Regions from separate parts of the Homo sapiens genome. Here region 1 is linked to region 2. Evidence: promoter capture Hi-C in human tissues and cell types (Jung and others, 2019). All regions are on one chromosome and are shown on one strand. The core of a region is centred on a gene start or on the middle of the fragment in contact, and the rest is flanking DNA. Distances in the headings are between cores, read along the strand shown.

Evidence for each region. Contacts are between HindIII fragments. The study calls those that stand out against the background at their distance.
Region 1: a fragment that was not itself captured here is called in contact with the fragment with the promoter of CX3CR1 in region 2 in 1 of the 25 tissues and cell types used here (adrenal gland).

Annotation. Positions count from the first base shown.
Region 1 is chr3:39,079,542-39,083,138 of GRCh38, reverse strand. WDR48 (WD repeat domain 48) reads right to left here. Exons shown (of 19, transcript NM_020839.4): 11 at 3,331-3,428. Among named protein-coding and RNA genes, the nearest start is that of GORASP1, 26 kb to the left of the region's middle. The HindIII fragment of the contact is 3,405 bases long and covers 1-3,363 here.
Region 2 is chr3:39,278,714-39,282,577 of GRCh38, reverse strand. CX3CR1 (C-X3-C motif chemokine receptor 1) reads left to right here and starts at 2,542. Exons shown (of 2, transcript NM_001337.4): 1 at 2,542-2,624. The HindIII fragment of the contact is 7,786 bases long and covers 1-3,024 here.

The DNA.
Region 1 (3,597 bases), core at 412-2,911, 200 kb after region 2:
GAGGCCACCCTCTTTATTTAAATCCATGATGTTAGTCACATCTTAAATCAACTCACAGCAGGTTAATGCCACTAACCGCAAGCTTCTTCTTGAAACACTCAATTAGTTCTGGAGCTGCCACTGGCTCTTCATTTTCTTACTCCCCCGCAACTTTTTAAAATCATATACTATTGTGGCTTCCTCTTTTCCCAACATCCCTGAAAGACTGATGACTTAGTTTCTTCTCAGTCTACATATGTCCCTTGGAAACTCTGACATTTCCTATGACATCAAACTGTAACCCACAAGCTGATGACTGCTGAGCCTTTTTCTCCAGCCCAGTTCTTTAACTGTGCATGAGACTGTACAGCTGTCTGCCCACCAAACACCTCTATTCAGATATCCCACAGAAACTCAAATTCAACATCTTTCTCAGCATGTCCTTTTCTCCTGATAACCTGTTTTTCATCTTACATTCCCTACATCACTTCCATTCACCAAACTGGACAATCAAGAAATCTGGGACTCATTCTTGCTTTTTCCTTTCCTCATACTCCTTTCATTAAAGTATCACTCCTGTGGGCAGGCACGGTTGCTCATGCCTGTAATCTCAGCACTGTGGGAGGCCAAGACGGGCAGATCATGAGGCCAGGAGATCGAGACCATCCTGGCCAACAAGGAGAAACGCTGTCTCTACTAAAAATACAAAAATTAGCCCGATGTGGTGGTGCATGCCTGTAATCCCAGCTACTCGGGAGGCTGAGGCAGGAGAATCGCTTGAACCAGGGAGTCAGAGGTTGCAGTGAGCTGAGGTTGCGCCACTGCACTCCAGCCGGGGCAACAGAATGAGACTCCGTATCAAAAAAAAAAGAAAAAAAAAAGTATCACTCTTGTTCACAGGCCTAAATATTTTCCTAATCATTCGATTTTTTCCATCCCCCTTGTTCCCACCCTAGTCTAGACAAATATCACCTTTCACCTGTATTAGTGCAACAGCCTCCTATTATGTACCAGACACTGTGCTTCTCAACATCACCAATAATAGGCACCCCCGACATTTTAGGAATGAAGAAACCATTTTAGAGATGTTCCCTAGCATATTCCGTAGATCACTTGGCGAGTATTTGGCACAGCCAAGGTTAGAATGCAGCTCTGTCCAACTCCCAAGCCAATGTTCCTAAAAAACTCCTGACTGTCCCACACTGTTTAGCCACGTCTATTACACCAGATCATTTGATATCAAAACTTCAAGGTCTAGATATGGGAAGCTGCTAGGTACACAGAAATGCCAATCATGATGTATGCTGGCCCCATCTAAGTAGAAGTACCTCCCATTCAGACAGCAGGATTCTACTCAGGCCTCAGTTAACCAGACCAAGAGTGGGCAACAGACCCATATACAGAAAACAGATAGGTCAACTCTCAAAGAGGAGCTGGCCTGATCAGATTCTCTTGGGTATTCTGGAGACAATTAGGTCCTGGGCAGCATGAGGCGAAGTCCAGCCACAGGACAGAGTTAGGGACACATTTGTGGTAGAGTATCAAAGTGAAGAATCAATAATTTCTGCTGATGAGTTTCTTAGGGCTGTTCTGGATCCTGCCAGTCCCCAAGAGAACCCTCTCTGAAATCAATGTGTTTCTACCCCCACCCCCAACAGGCATCTCTCTATTGTAGAGAAAAACTAATCAGATTTTTGAAGCTTGCCGCAACTAAACTTTCTACTCAAAGAACTAAAGCCTCTCATTCTGAAGCAATGCTCACCAAACAACTGTTTCATAATGGACTTCCCACATAGATGTCCCACAGGGAGCAAAAATGGTAGTCAAGCCAAGGTTTCTGTTCAGTGACAGTCCCTTTTTCCTAGCAAGAAACTTGCCTGTCTTATTCTTTAGTTCATTAAGTGAATCTCTTTTCTTTATAACCAGGAGCTTAACCAAAATACCAGCTGTTTTCAATTCTTCCTTTATAATAAGCTCAACACCTGTCTCGTCCTTTATTTTTATTTATTTATTTAACCTTTCCTATGGTGCTCATGTCTCTTCCTTTAGATCTCCAATCATGACGTCTTCCAGCTTTCAGTTTCCCATTACATACACTAACAACTACTGCCCTCAACATGAGATTTTCCTGCTCTAAAATTATCTAAGGTTCTTCTAGGAGTACAAAAGAAAGGCCAACTTTGGGTCCTGCAGCTTAAGGCTCTTTGGGAAATGACCTAAATGTCATTTTTCAATCTTACACCCCTGTTACTTCCTTATATTTACTCTGGTCTCCAAATAAACAAAACTGCTCACCTTGCCCCAAATAAGCACATACCATCCTTTTCCTGTGCCTCTGCCATTCATTTCCTTTTCCTGAAATGCTCTTCCTTCTACTCCCATTATGCATCTACTGGAAACCTTTAAGTCCTTGTTCAAATGATTTCTCCACCACGAAGCTCTCCTGACTTCCCTCATCCATAAGCTATCCTGAAATCTGTTCCTTCTTTATCTATAAGGTTTTCCCATTCCACTTGTCCCTCCTACCAAAGGGGATCAAGGTAAAGACTTTTTCATCATTTATGACCCTCAAGCATGGTTCTTTGCACATGACAGTCATTCCATCTAGGAAATATCTGTTGAACAAATGAACAAGTATACCAACAACACTAAGAGAGAGACTTGTGAGAATGATAAAAGCAGACTAACTTTTTAATCTGCCTACAAATGCTTCACTGCTATTTGGAATGTGATTGAATAGCTTCATGCATTTCAACTGTCCCAGAAGGAGTTATTGTAACATGACCCAGAGTTGTAACTAATGCTCATAGTGATGTCTATAAATCCTAAGAAACAGCCAACCTTATTGTGTGCACTCCAGTGTGTCTCATCTAGGGTGATTTTACACCATTCTTCCTCCCTCCAAACATCTGGCAACATGTGGAGACACTTGTGGTTGCCACACCTAGGGGGAGGGAGGGGTATTACTGGCAACTACTGGGTGGAGGCTAGAGATGTTCTAAACATCCTACAATGCATGGAATAGCCCCCTACCTGCCCCCTCCTCCACCTCCAAATAATTATCTGGCTTAAGATGTCAATAGCTACAAGGATGAGACTTTTAAGGTAAGGCAGCATATAAGATTGTCTGCAATACACTAACCAGAGAAAATGATTCCATTTAAACAGTTTATTTACTTAAAAAGATGAATTATGATCTTATCTAATATTCATATAAGAAAGTATATACCACCCCATAAAGTATTACTGCAATTACATCTTAATTTATATTATCTTATCACATACAAAAAATAAAAAATAAAGGGGGTATACAATCTAACAACCTATATTTAGCCCAAAAAAAATACTCACCTTCAATACATCCCAATATGCCACATTATTATTGGTATCTTTGGTTAATATATGTCTCTTATCATTAAGAATGTGGCACTGAATAATACTAGCACCCCCTAATGGGAAAAAAAAACACAATTGGTAAAACAATCTTTCTACATTTAAATTCATGGTGTGGTAACAATTGTTAACTGGTATCTAACAGGAACATAAACTGTACTAGCTACTAGAAAGGAAAAGGCAAACCTAAAGACTATATAATTATATCTAAAGCAATTCAAGTCC
Region 2 (3,864 bases), core at 1,293-3,792:
GGGTGTCCCCACCATCCTCACAGCCTCTCTGTCTGGCCTCCTGCCTTTGAGCCAGCCCACCACACTCTCATTTCTCTGCCCAGCAGAAACCAAACTGTCCTCTGCATTTACTGTCTCAACTGGAAGAGAAATGCAGAATGACAAAGAACTTGTGAACAAGGGTCAGCTCCAACAGAGAGTGAAGCCAAAGGGGCTGGGCAGAAAGAGAGATGAAGACGGGGATCTAAGGAATAAGGCTGTACCAGAGTGAGAGTACGGGGGAGGGGTTGAACAAGAGTTCAGGGAGGAGAGAATTCCCAGCGCTGAGCCAGAGACTCCTTTACAGAGGCCCAAGGAGGCGTGGAGGGAGGGGGAAGGCTGCCAAGGCTCTTTCTGTCTCCATGAGTGTGTCAAGAATGCAAAGCACTAATGCTCTTCACTTGGTCCATCTTGCAGGGTTGAGTTTGCAGTGAGCAACCTTGAAGGATGAGCTGACATCTCGCTCAGGGCCAAATAACCGACTTGCTTACTGCTTGCTATAAAATGGCACGTTACCCAAGGTCAGAGTTCCCTTCCTATAACCTCCCCATCCCTCACACATTCACAGGTATCTATCCAAGCCATGGCATCACTCTGTGGGGCTTGGGGGCAAGGCAACTGACACTGGACGCTGGTTCTCATGCTTGCCAAGCATGAAGCCCTGTGCTGCTAGCAGCTGTGGAACATAGCCGTTAGCTTTAAAAGAGGGTAAAATCACGTCCTGGACAGGACAGCCAGGTGAGTTGGGAAGGGAAGAGAGCCTGCCACGGGCACAGGCATGTTGGGGGAAGTGGAAGTGGTGAGAGCACAGTAGGAAGTGAGAAGGGGCGGGCCGTGCTTACCAGGCCGTGGACTTAAACCAGGATGAGAGAACCCCTGGAGGCGTTTAAGTTGGCAGACTTGGATTTCAGGAAGAGCTCTCTGGCTTCTGGGTGGAGAATGGCCAGTGGGGTAAGTGGTGAGAGGAAAGACAGAGAACGGAGAAGGTTAGATGGGCTTGGGAAATTATCCAGGCCCTGGATGGAGGTAGAGATGTGTGCTCATGAACACGGAGGGGATTACTGATGTGGGGTGGATGAGACTGTCGTCAAGAGTGTGGGACAGGAAGAGAGGGAGAGTCTTGGCCAGATCCAAGAAAGGAGCCCTCAGAAGAGGAGGGGAGTCAGAGGCAAGGAAGGGGCTGAGGCAGCCAGCCCAGCTGAGTGGACCCCAGGAGAGGTATCAAGGGGTGGTGTGGGGTGGGGAGGGGCCAGTGTCAGAAAGTGGATGGGGAGCGGCCTGACTCTGCTTTTGTCCTGTGGCCTTCTGGCCAAAGGCAGGGAAAGGTGGCCAAACACTGAGACCAAGAACAAAGAAAGAAAACTGCTGGTGGACTTCTTCCACCATGAGCAGGCCACCAAGCCCGCAGCACTGCACTGCAGCCCCCAGCTCTGTCCTGGGGTTGGGGGAGGTGAGGAGGGGCAAGGTGGGGAGCACACAGAGCACCCGCTGTCCTCGGAACACCACAGCGACTAGAGGTAAGGGAGCACCGGATGTGGCTGGGATGTGGGCAGCAAGGGGCCAGAGGGGCCTTGAAGGGGTCACAGACCATTTAATGAAGGTGTATTGAAGGCCACCATGGGCCAGGCCCTAGTTAGGGATGGATCAGAATTATATAGCATATGCCAGGGGTCAGGCAGGTAATGAAGTGATCGGAAGGTGATGAGGCAGTGGCAGTTGAGATTCACGTTGCAGTCGCCCCAAGCTGGCCAGGCCAGGGAGCAGAAGCATGGCTGGATGCCGGAGCCCACCAGGCTCCCCACTGCAGGGCAAGAGTGGCAGGGGGAGAGACTGTGAAAGGAGCATAGGCCAGGTCCTGGGTGAAAGCTGTGTCCTCAGCCTTGACTGATGGGTATAGGGAGCCACTAAATGCCTTGGGGCAGAGAGGTGAGGAAAAAAATATTTACCGAGCATCTACAAGGTGCAAGGTACTCACTAGATGCCTTCAGTACCAAAGCTTCTCAAACTTAGTATGCATATCACTCTTCTAAGAATTTCATTAAAATGCAGATTCTAATTCAGCAGATATAGGGCAGGGCTTGAGGTGCTGTCTTTAATAAGCTCCCAGTGCCTGGGACTGCACTTTGAGGAGAAGAGCTGTGTGTGCCCCAGTGTGGTCCAGTGAGTACTCTGGGCTCCCTCTCGTGGGCAGGGAAGCTGAGGGCCCCATGAGCTCTCCCAGCTTCCTGAAGGCTCCCCATTAATGAGAGCTGACTGTGCTGTGCTTTGCTGACTGCAGGGCCTGCTCCCTGCCCCCCACCTCCAGGTTGGGGTAAGTGGCACCTCTCTCCCTCCAGCTCCGCAGTCTTCCCTGAGGTTTAGATCTTCCAGGTTTATAAAGTCAGGCCCTCCTGTTGGCAGCTGGCCTCCACCCTGGAGTATCTGAGCTTGCCTGTGGCAGCATCTAAAGATAGTCTCCCTTACAGGAAACAAGATACTATTGGCTAACTCTGCAAATAAAATGCTCTTAGAGGGAAGGAAAGGGAAATACTCGTCTCTGGTAAAGTCTGAGCAGGACAGGGTGGCTGACTGGCAGATCCAGAGGTTCCCTTGGCAGTCCACGCCAGGTAGGTGCACAGGACTAGTTGGGTACCTGTGGGTGGGGTGGAGCAGTGGACAGCTAATAGGTTAATAATGCCTGTTTGCTTACGTGCAGACAATGGAAACCATTTTCCTGGGGATGTTGTAGCCTAAATATGTCCAAGGGGATGGAAGAGTGGGAGGCAAGGGGTGATCAGATCATTTATAATACACTCAACCTGGTGGAATAGTATTAGAAGCATTAGTAATTACATTTTAGAGACATGGAGAAAAGCTCATGATTTTAAACTAACTGAAAAAAGCATGAAAAATTGCATCTGGATGCTGTTGAGGAATTATTGCTAATTTTTTGAGATGAGAAATTGTATTAAAGTCTTTTTCAAAAAAGAGTCCTTAACTTTTAGAGATGCACACAAGTGTTTATGGGTGAAATTAAATAATTCAGTAGAGACATTAAGTGGGAAATAGAGGAAATATTGACCATGGGTTGCTAATAGTTGAAGCCAGGTGTTGGGTATAAGGAGGTTCTCGCTGCTTTTATTTGAAAAGTTGCTTTTTATTTGAAAATTTAATAATAAAGAGTTTTTAAATTTGTATCTGTATTTTAATATAAATATAAATGCACTTAATATAAATATAAAATATGTATAACATTTAGATAGAGAAAAGCTAAAAGATTACTGTGGTTGATTCTAGGAAACTGCATTGCAGATAGTTTCATGGGTTTTTTTTTCCTTTTTCTTCCACTTTTTGTACCATCTATGGGTTTTTGTTTGTTTTTTGTTTTTTGGGTTTTCTTTCTTGTTTGTGTTTTGTTTTTTGAGACGGAGTTTTGCTCTTGTTGCCTAAGCTGGAGTGCAATGGCACAGTCTCGGCTCACTGCAACCTCTGCCTCCTGGGTTCAAGTGATTCTCCTGCCTCAGCCTCCCAAGTAGCTGGGATTATAGGCATGTACCACCGCCCGGCTAATTTTGTATTTTTAGTAGAGGCGGGGTTTCTCCATTAATAAATTCCTGGCACAAATTTAGTGTTCAATTTTGATATATGTTGTTATAACCATTGTGAGGATACTCAGGCTCAGGTTTGTGTGGGTGGAAAACATGGTCTTCAGAAAGAAATTATGAGTGCAAGACAGGAGGAAATCCATCAGAGGCCCCAGCTGAGGACTGACCACGGCTTGTTATTTCTCTTGCCTTGCCTCTGGCAATCACAGCCTCACAGAGCCTGCAATCCTTGCTTTGTGAGTTTATAGCTCAGTCCAGAGAA